2 separate regions of the Homo sapiens genome follow, and region 1 is linked to region 2. Evidence: promoter capture Hi-C in human tissues and cell types (Jung and others, 2019). All regions are on one chromosome and are shown on one strand. The core of a region is centred on a gene start or on the middle of the fragment in contact, and the rest is flanking DNA. Distances in the headings are between cores, read along the strand shown.

Region 1 (5,142 bases), core at 567-3,066, 140 kb after region 2:
CAAGTTCTCTTCTCTTGTCTGCCGCCATGTGATATGTGCACTTCACCTTCTGCCATGATTGTGAGGTCTCCCCAGCCACGTGAAACTGTGAGTCCATTAAACCTCTTTTTCCTTATAAATTACCCAGTCTTGCATATGTCTTTATCAGCAGCATGAAAATGGACTAATACAGGTTGCTTTCATGTTTTAGCTATTGTGAATAATGCTGCCATGAACATGTGCATACAAATATCTCTTTGAGAGCCTGCTTTCAATTATTTGGGGTATATGTGCAGAAATCTAGTTGCTGGGTAACTCTATTTTTAATTTTTTGGGGAAGCACCATACTGTTTTCCATCGTGGATGTACCATTTCACATTCCCAGCAACAGTGCAGAAGGGTTCCAGTTTCTCCACATCCTCGCCAACACTAGTTATTTTCTGGATTTTTTGTGTGTTTTTTTGTTTGCTTGTTTGTTTTATTAATATAGTAACCAACCTAATGGTGTTAGGTGGTATATCATTGCAGTTTTGTTTGGTTTTTGTTTTGTTTTTTGTTTTTGAGACAGGGTCTCACTCTGTTTCCCATGCTGGAGTATAAGTGGTGCAATCATAGCTTACTGCAGACTTGACCTCCTGGGCTCCAGTGATCCTCCTACTCAGTCTCCTGAGTAGCTGGAAATACAGGCATACACCACCATGCCTGGCTAATTTTAAATTTTATTTTATTTTATTTTATTTTTAGAGAAGTGGTGTGGGGGGGTCTCACTATGTTGCTCAGGTTGGTCTTGAACTGGGCTCAAGCAATCCCTTAGCCTCGCCAAGTGCTGGGATTACAGGTGTGAGCCACTGTTCCCCAGCCTTATTGTAGTTTAGATATGCATTTGCCTAATGAATGGTGACGTCAAGCATTTTTATATACATATTGCCCATTTGAGTACTTATTTAGAGAAATGTCTATTCAAGTCATGTGTCTATTTTTGAATCAGCTTTTTGTTTCATTGTAGAGTTTTAGGAGTTTTCTACATATTAAGGATACTAATTCCTGATCACATACACAACTTGCAACTATTTTCTCCCATCTAGTGAGTTGCCTCTTTACTCTGTTGACATTGTTTTTTGCCTGTGCTTTTGTTGTCATATCCAAGAAATTATTGCCAAATCCAAAGTTGTATAGCTTTGTCTTATTATTATTTTTTAGAGTTTTACAGTTTTAGATTGTACATTTAGGTTTTTGTAGTTTGTATATGGTGTGAGGCAAAAGGTCCAGCTTTATTCTTCTGCAAATTAATGTCCTGTTTTCCCAACACCGCTTGTCAAAAAGACTATTATTTTCCCCACTGGACGGTCTCAGCACCTTGTCAAAGATTATTTGACCATATATGTGAAGGTTTATTTCTGAACTCTGTGTTCTATTTCATTGACCTATGTGTCTGTCTCTATGCCAGTGTGGTACTGGCATAAAGATAGACATGTAGGTCCAGGGTACCACACTGGTATGACGACAGACTGTAGATTACTGTATTCTTGATCACTGTAGCTTTATAGTGAGTTTACCAGATTATGAAATTATTGATTACTATAGCTTTGTAGTAAGTATTGAAATCAGGAAGTGTGAGTCCTCTAACTTTCTTCTTTTCTTTCAACATTGCTTTTGCTATTTGGGATCCCTTGAGATTCTATATGAGTTTTAGGATGGGTTTTTCCATTTCTGAGAAAAAAAGGCTTTGTGGTTTTGATGGGGTAGAATTAAATCTGTAGATTACTTTGAGTACTATTGACATCTTCCAATCCATGAACATGGGATGTCTTCTTTATTTATTTATGTCTTCTTTAATTTCTTACCGCAATTTTTTTGTAGTTGTCAGTACAGAAGTCTTTAACCTCCTCAGTTAAGCTGATTCCTAAATATTTTATTTTATTCTTTTTGCTGCTACTGTAAGTAGAATTGTTTTCATAATTTGCTTTTTGGACTGTTCATTGTTAGTTAGCATGAACAATGTATTGATTTTTTATCCTGCTACTTAGCTGAATTCATTTATTAGTTCATTTATTTTTCATGCCTAATTGTTCTGGCTAGCACTTTTAGTACTATGCTGAATAGCAGTGGGGAAACAGGCACCCTTCCTGTGGGTTTTTCGTATATGGCTTTTATTATGTAATGTTGAGGCAGTTTCCTTTTATTCCTAGTTTGTTAAGTGTTTTTCTTTAAATCATAAAATGTGTTGAATTTTGTCAAATGCTGCCACTGCATCAATTCAGATGGTTATGTGGGAGATTTTCCCCTTCTGGAAATGTTGTGTATTGCACTGATCCATTTTCAGTTGAGCCGTCTTAGTACTCCAAGAATAAGTCACACTTGGTCATAGTGTGTAATCCTTTTTTTAATATGCTGCTGAATTAGGTTTGCTAGTATTTTGTTGAGAATTTTCACATCTATATTCATCAGGGATGTTAGTTCTGTAGTTGTTTTGTTTTGTTTGAGACAGGGTCTTGCTCTGTTGCCCAGGCTGGAGTGCAGTAATGCAATCTTGGCTTACTGCAGCCTATACCTCCTGGCTCAAGCCATTCTCCTACCTCAGTTTCCTGAGTAGCTGGGACTACAGGCACATGCCACCATGCCCAGCTAATTTTTGTATTTTATGTAAAGATGGGGCTTCCCCATGTTTCCCAGGCTGTTCTTGAACTCCTGAGCTTCCACCTCAGCCTCCCACAGTGCTGGGGCTGCAGGCATGAGCCACTGTGTCTGGCCCTGGTCTGTAGTTTTCTTTCTTTAAATTTTTTTTTTTTTTTTTTTTTAGAGACAGGGTCTTGCTCTGCTGCCTAGGCTGGAGTGCAGTGGTGCGATCATGGCTCATTGCAGCCTGGAACTCCCGGGCTCAAGTGATCTTCCCACCTTAGCCTCCCAAGTAGCTAGGACTACAGGCATGCACCACCACACCAGCCTATTTTATTCTTTTGTAGAGATGGGGTCTCAATATGTTGCCCAGGCTGGTCTTGAACTCCTGGTTTCAAGTGATCCTCCTGCCTCAGCCTCCCAAAGTACTTGGATTACAGGTGTGATTTGCCACACTTAGCCCAGTTTTCTTTTCTCATAGTGTCTTCGTCTGGCTTTGGCATCAGGATAATGTTGGCCTCATAGAATAGTTAGGAAGTAGTCCTTCGCCTTCAGTTTTTCTGAAGCGTTTGAGAAGAATCGGTATTCTTCATCCAATATTTGGGAGAATTTGCCAGTGAAGCCATCAAGTCCAGGGCTTTTCTTTGTCAGATTTTTCATTACTGATTCAATCTCCACATTAGTTATAATTCTGTTAAGACTTTCTATTTATTCCTGATTTGTTTCTCAGTAGATTTTGTGTCTCTAGGAATTTGTTTATTTCATCCATGTTATCCAATGTGTTGGCATACAATTGTTCATAGTACTCTCTTACAATTTTTTTTTATTTCTATAGAGTCAGTAGTAATGTGCCCACTTTCATTTCTGATTTAGTAACTGGAGTTTTCCCTCTATTTTCTTAGTCCATCTAGTGAAAGGCTTGTTAATTTTGTTGATCTTTCAAAGAACTAACTTTTGGTTTTACTGGTTTTTCTCTATTGTTTTTCAATTCTTTATTTCATTTATCTCTTCTCTAACCTTCAGTATTTCTTTTCTTCTGCTAGCTTTGGGTTTAGTTTATTCTTCTTTTTCTAGCTCCTTAAGTTGTAAAGTTAGGTTGCGGGTTTGAGATCTTGCTAGTTTTTTAGTGTAAGCATTTATAACTATGAACTTCCCCTGTGGCACTGCTTTTGCAGCATCCTGTAAGTGCTGGTCTGCTGCGTTTTCGTTTTCATTCTAAGTATTTTCTTTTTCCCTTGTGATTTCTTCTCTGGACTGTTGGTTGTTTAAGAGTGTGTTGTTTAACTTCCAGAAATTTGTGGATTTTTCAGTTTTACTTCTGTTATTGATTTCTAACGTTATCCTATTGTGGTTGGAGAAGAGTTTGTATGATACCTACATTTTAAAATTGATTGAGACCTAATTTGTGGCCTAACAGATGGTGTATCCTGGAAAATGACTCATGCTTATTTGAGAAGGATGTATATGCTGCTATTGTTCTTGGTAGAATGTCTGGATGTGTGTTAGATCTAGTTGGTTTATTGTGTTGCTGCCCGCCGCTGCCCTACACTCCTCTCACCCAACTACGCATCCAACTCTGCTGAACAGTGAGCTAACACAGCACAGACTGCCCGCCCTACATGCCTCTTACCCAACTACGTGTCCAACTCTGCTGAAACCCGAGCTAACACAGCACAGGCTGCCCGCCGCTGCCCTACACGCCTCTCACCCAGCTAGACTCGCATCCAACTCTGCTGAACCACCAGCTAACACAGCACAGGCTGCCCGCCGCTGCCCTACACGCCTCTCACCCAGCTAGACTCACTGTCCAACTCTGCTGAACCACCAGCTAACACAGCACAGACTGCTCGCCGCTGCCCTACGCGCTTCTCACCCGGCTAGACTCGTGTCAAACTCCAAGCAGACTGGTGAGACAGCGCTGCTACAATACAGGGTACAGGAGCCAAGGGGACGGCGCACAGGGACTTCTGTGTAACCATTTGTGGCCTGGGACCCCAGAGCTAGTGTCTGGCAATGTTTGGGTTTAGACCTAGGGGTGATGGCTCCAGTCCTGCCCACTTTGCCCCATCCTCTGGGTCCCGAGCCTACCCTGGGCCTTTGGACTCCTGCCAGGCCTTGCGGCAGGTGCATCACACTGTTGGGTTCCTAAGTGCCACAGGCCTGGGATCAGCAGACATGAGGAACACCAACGGTGTCCCTGGAAAGCAATCCCCGGGGCTGGGTGAGGCAGGAGGAGTGTAGCAGGTGGGGAAGCTGGATAGAGGTGGCCAGGATGGGAGCTGTGCTCTGTGGGCCATGAGAAGGGTGGAAGGACTTGGGGGCAGGGAGAGATTTTGGGTTTGTCTTCATAAGGGTCACTCTGGCTGCTCTCAGGGGGATTGAAGGAGCAAGGCAGGGAGACACAGTGGCGTTCATGGTCATGGGGGAAGGGCTGCTTTCCAGCGGTAGGGCTGAGAAACGGTGAGGAAGAAGCCTGGGGTGGCGGGTGGCTTGCACTGACTCTGGGCTGCGGTCCTACCTAAGCTCCAGGGAGGACGGGGTTTCTGA
Region 2 (4,883 bases), core at 1,886-4,385:
ACATCCGCAGCCTAGCCACTCCACCCCGAAGAATATATTCCAAGGAAAAAAATCAAGTAAGAGAACAAGTGGTGTCTCATAGCAAAACGGCAGAAACTATGTTATGGTATGATAGCCAAAAGATGTATCATGCAACCTTAAGAATGATGATACAGACTTATTTTAACACGGAAGGAGGTCTATGTTTGAGTAAGTAATAAAAGCAGATTACTGAATGGTAGACACACTATTGCTTTTGTTTTAAAAATCTGCATCTATAGGAAATGCTTGGAAGGATATACACCAGAGCTAAACAAGGGCTTCCCTCTGAGTGACACACCACTGGACAGCTACAGAGCTACAGTCAAGGCTCTGCCCAGAGCCTCCACCCCTTTTCACCACTTTTTTGTGTGTCTTTGGATTTGGTGTGGTCCCGACATGCAGCATCTGTGGCTTTTTGGAGGAATGCACTCAGACTACTGGAATCTGTGTTGACCTCAGGCTTTAAGAGCTAGGCAAACCTGTGAATCTATACCTGCCCCAGGCCCTTAACCAGTCACCTGCCAACGCAGAGTATGCTGACCTCAAAAGCTATGACGCTCTGAGCCCTGTCTTCACACTTCCCAGCACCACGAAGGCACACGCGTCTCCATCATTCCTAACAATGTTATCTTCGGGGAACATTATCTTGGGTCACCAGTGCCCTCCTCACTGGTCCAATGGACACTTTCAAACACCAATTCCTTGACTTCACTGGGATGTCCAGTTCATCAACATCTCTTTTTTACCTGACATCTTCTTTACCTCCTTCAACAAATGCTCTTTCCAACAAGATAGTCTCTTCTAGTTTCCTTCACCTTTGGGGCTCTCCACACTCCAATATCTAGGATTATAGGATTATTATCCCGTATTAATCGCTCCCCAAATGTGTTCCTGGCTGTCTTGAGTTCCAGACCCACATGTGCAACTGCCTCTTGTCTTCCCCTGGATGGCTCTCACAGGATACAGGCCGTGTCCAGACATGAGCTCAGGGGCCCTGCACCCCACCCTGCTGTGCCCCACCCTGCTGGGTTCCCTCCCGCTGGGCTCCTCTCCAGTGTTTTGTCTAGCAGTGAAACCCTGTCCAGTTCTCTAGCCCTTGTCTCCGACTCATGTCTGCTGAATCTACCTAACTTCTCCTGAACCTATCACTTCTCCCCATCACCTCTCATGTGCTCAGCTGCAGTCTCTCCCACAGTTTCTATCTCCCTCCAATCTACTTTTCACCTCGCTGCCCGAGACACTTTTGTTTTTAAATACACACCTGAAATCAACAACTCCACTCCCAGGTTACACACCCAACAGAAATGTGTACCTAAGATCACCGAAGACAGGAGCAAGAAGATTCACAGTAGCATTATTTCTGCAGCCAAATCTGCAAACAACCCAAAGGGCCATGGACAGTGGAAACGATGAGTAACTTGGGGTGTATCCATACAATGGAACACCACACAACAATGAAAGTAGATGAACTACAGTTACATACAAATACAATGATAAACTTTGCTAATCCCACATTTCGGGAGGCCAAGGCCGGTGATTGTTAGAGGACAGGAATTGGAGACCATCCTGGGCAACAAAGGGACCCCATCTCTGTGAAAAATTAAAAAAATCAGGGGTGCGTGGCTGCACATGCCTGTAGCCCCGCTACCCTGGAGGCTGAGGTAGGAGAATCACTTGAGCCTGGGAGGCGGAGGCTGCAGTAAACCGAGATCCCGCCACCGAACTCCAGCCTGGGCGACAAAGCTGAGCTCTGCCTTGAAAGAGGCAAAGAGAAGGAAGGGAGAAAAAGGAAGAAAGATGGGGAGCCACAGAAAGCGGCTTTGCTGTAGGGCTGGTTGTAGGGCTGCATTCACTAAGGCTCCATGGGTCTAAGGCCAACTCCGAGGATGGAGGTCAGCACAGCTGGCGTCCCCTGGGGCTGGAGGGCTGTGAGCCACCGGCACCCAGCTGGCTGCTTTCACGGGGAAGTTCGCTTGGTAAAAGCTCACTGTGTTTTTGCTTTTGTTCTTGCATAAACATCAGTTCAACACAAAATTTTCACAGAAAGAAAAACGCCTCCCTGACAATGCGACTGTCCACTTGACACCAGGGCCCCGCGCTGCCCATGGAATAGGGCCAGAGTCCTCCACTGGCGTTAAGGTTGCCGCCTGCCCGCTTCTCCCCCAGGTCCTCCAGGCGGACCCGCAGCCTGCAAGCCAGAGCCCCCGACTGACAGGACTCGTGGCCCGACCCCTGTGTCCCCCTCATCTTGCATCCCGCTCCCCCCGGCGGCCCCTCCCCTCCACGGCCCCTTCCTGCCTGCGGACCCTCCCCCACGCCCTCCTCCCCTGGCGTCTCCCCTCCCCCCATCTCCTCGGTATCCCCCTTCCCCCCCAAGCCTTGACCCCCCACATCCCCCACCTTGCCCCCCTCCTCTGGCGTCCCCTTCCTCCCTGCAGCCCCCCACCACCTCCGGCGTCCCCTCTTTCCCCACCCTCCCGCAGCCCCTCACTCCCCCGCTCCCTCCCCACCGCTTCTCCAGTGTCCCCCTCTCCCCACGGGCCCCTCATCACGCCCGCGGCCCCCACTCCCCGGTGGCCCCTCCTCCGAATACCCCTACCTCCGCGGCCTCTCACCCCCCCATGCCCCCCCCGCTCCATGCGCCGTTTCTCCCCCTCGGCCCCCCACGCGCCCCCGCGGCCCCTCCACCCCAGGTCCCCCTCCCCTCAGAGTTCCCCTGCTCCTCGCGGCCTCTCCCCTGGCATCCCCCTCCCCCTGCCCCCTCCCCCTTCTCCACGCGCCCTCTCTCCTCCGCAGCCCCCCACGTGCCCCCATGGCCCTCCCACCCAAGTCCCCCATCCCCCGGAGTTCCCTGACCCCCTTGCCGCTCCCCTCCCCTCTCCAGCCTGCGTTCGGGAAGCCCTGACCTTTGCCGAGGCAGGCGTCGCAGTACACGTGCCCGCAGTTGGTGAGGCTGAAGCACGACGTCCTGTGGGGCGGCTGGAAGCAGCGATTACAGAACACCCAGTTGGCCATGCCAGGCGGGCGACCGCAGCGGCGAGGCCGGGCCCACGCGAAGCCCACGCAAGGTTGGGACCAGCCTCCCCGCGCAGGGCCCGAAGGCGGGCAGCTCTGCGCCTGCGCAAAGTCGACGGCAGCCCTGCGCCCGCGCACTGGAGCTCGCGCCCTCCCGCCAACCTCGCGGGTTCTCCCGCAGCACCTGGGAGGGCGCGTGTGACTCGTCTCCCAGGTCGTTTGGGCTGGAGTAGGCGGAGGAACGCACCGCGAGCACCAACGTCCCGCCCCTGTCTTGGCGGTCCTCAGGTGTTTTGTGGAAGCCGGGCCTGGGTGGCGGGCGCGGGGAATGGCGGCTGCGCTGAGGAGGCGTCGCGGCGCGACAGCAGTGGGGGAGGGGGAGGGGGAGCGCCGAGGGCGGGGGATGCGGGCCAGGCCCACCTTGAGGGCCGGGAGCTGGGCCGGAGGCCAGGGCGGCCAGGGTAGTGCGCTGGGCGAGGCAGGGGAGGAGTAGGGGAGAGTGGGCGTGGGGGCCCTGGGGGCCCGGGGAGCGGGATAGGAGGGAGGGAGGGATAAGTGGGTGTGGGAGTTGGGGTGGGAGCGGGAGTGGGGATGTGGGAGTTGGGGTGGGTGTGGGGGCGTGAGGCGGTGGGGGTGGGGTGTGATGAGGCGGTGGGGGTGGGGGGGGCAGTTGGGGGTGGGGGCCAGGCCGCGCTGCACGCTTTGGGACTAGTGTCCAGGTGGCCGCTGGCGCAGAGACCTCAGCACGGGAGGCCTGAGCCTGCTTCCCTCTGAAACGGAAGGCGTAGCTCGGGAAGGACCTCTGCTGCTTCCAGGTTCCAGCATGGGGAAGTGACTTTTTATAAAATTGTCCTCTGCGTGGTTTTGAGAGTTTCCACCCGCTGGGACGCTGCAAAGCTCGGATCGAGAGGCTCAGGCAAGTGCTTGTGCCGGGAGAGCGCAGGGTGAGCGCTCCCGGTAGCTACGGGCCAAGTGACCCCTGCGCCCCGAAAGATGTGAGTAAAATACAGCTGTTTCCAGGGCCTCGTATGAAAACCTTCTTAGTAATTTTATATTGATTACATGTTAACATGATATTTTTGATATATTAGGTTAAATATATATCAGTAGCGTTGATTTTACCCTTTCAAAAAATCCTTTTCAATGTGGAGACTAGAAAACTTAGAATTACGTATGGGCTGGGTGCGGTAGCTCACGCCTGTAATCCCAGCTACTCCGGAGGCTGAGGCAGGAGAATCGCTTGAACGAGGCGGAGGTTGCAGTGAGCCGAAATCACACCACTGCACTCCAGCCTGGGCAACAGAGTGAGACTTCGTCTCAACAACAACAACAGCAAATTAGAATTATGTATGTAGCCCACTTTTATTTCTGTTAGACAGTGCTGATCTCTACCAAGTTTAAAATAGCAAGACCAGCAACGTGGCAAAACCCCGTCTCTACAAAAAATACAAAAATTAGCTGGGTGTGGTGGTGGGCCCCTGGGGTCCCAGCTACTCGGGAGGCTGAGGTGGGAGGATTGCTTGGGCCCTGGAGATCGAGCCTGTGGTGAGCCTGACGGCACCTGTGCAGCAGAGCGAGACTCAGTCTCAAAAATAAGTTTAAGAATAGGATGAGGTGCCTAATCTATCAAATTCAGAAGCTGCATTATAAAAGCATTCTCTCAATGTTATAATGATATAACGTTAATCTCAATCTCTGGTATCTTTGAAATCATAAAAATAATACACATATATGCAGGTATTTTGATTTATTAACTCAAACATTATGCAGATTATTTGTCCTTATTGATAATATTTTAAACAATCTTCTTAGCTATAAAGAAGTCTTTCAGGTACTTCATTTGGAAA

The links. Contacts are between HindIII fragments. The study calls those that stand out against the background at their distance.
Region 1: a contact is called between a fragment that was not itself captured here and the fragment with the promoter of RNF212 in region 2, in 1 of the 25 tissues and cell types used here (IMR-90 fibroblasts).

The regions. Positions count from the first base shown.
Region 1 is chr4:1,256,372-1,261,513 of GRCh38, forward strand. No RefSeq gene overlaps it. Among named protein-coding and RNA genes, the nearest start is that of CTBP1-DT, 9.5 kb to the left of the region's middle. The HindIII fragment of the contact is 7,601 bases long and covers 1-5,142 here.
Region 2 is chr4:1,110,429-1,115,311 of GRCh38, forward strand. RNF212 (ring finger protein 212) reads right to left here and starts at 3,136. Exons shown (of 10, transcript NM_001131034.4): 1 at 2,928-3,136. The coding sequence starts at 3,036. It overlaps LOC124900647 (nascent polypeptide-associated complex subunit alpha, muscle-specific form-like), which reads left to right and starts at 3,211. Exons shown (of 3, transcript XM_047416477.1): 1 at 3,211-3,324. LOC105374344 (a long non-coding RNA gene) reads left to right here and starts at 3,211. Exons shown (of 3, transcript NR_134676.1): 1 at 3,211-3,324. It also overlaps the pseudogene TMED11P. The HindIII fragment of the contact is 9,480 bases long and covers 1-4,883 here.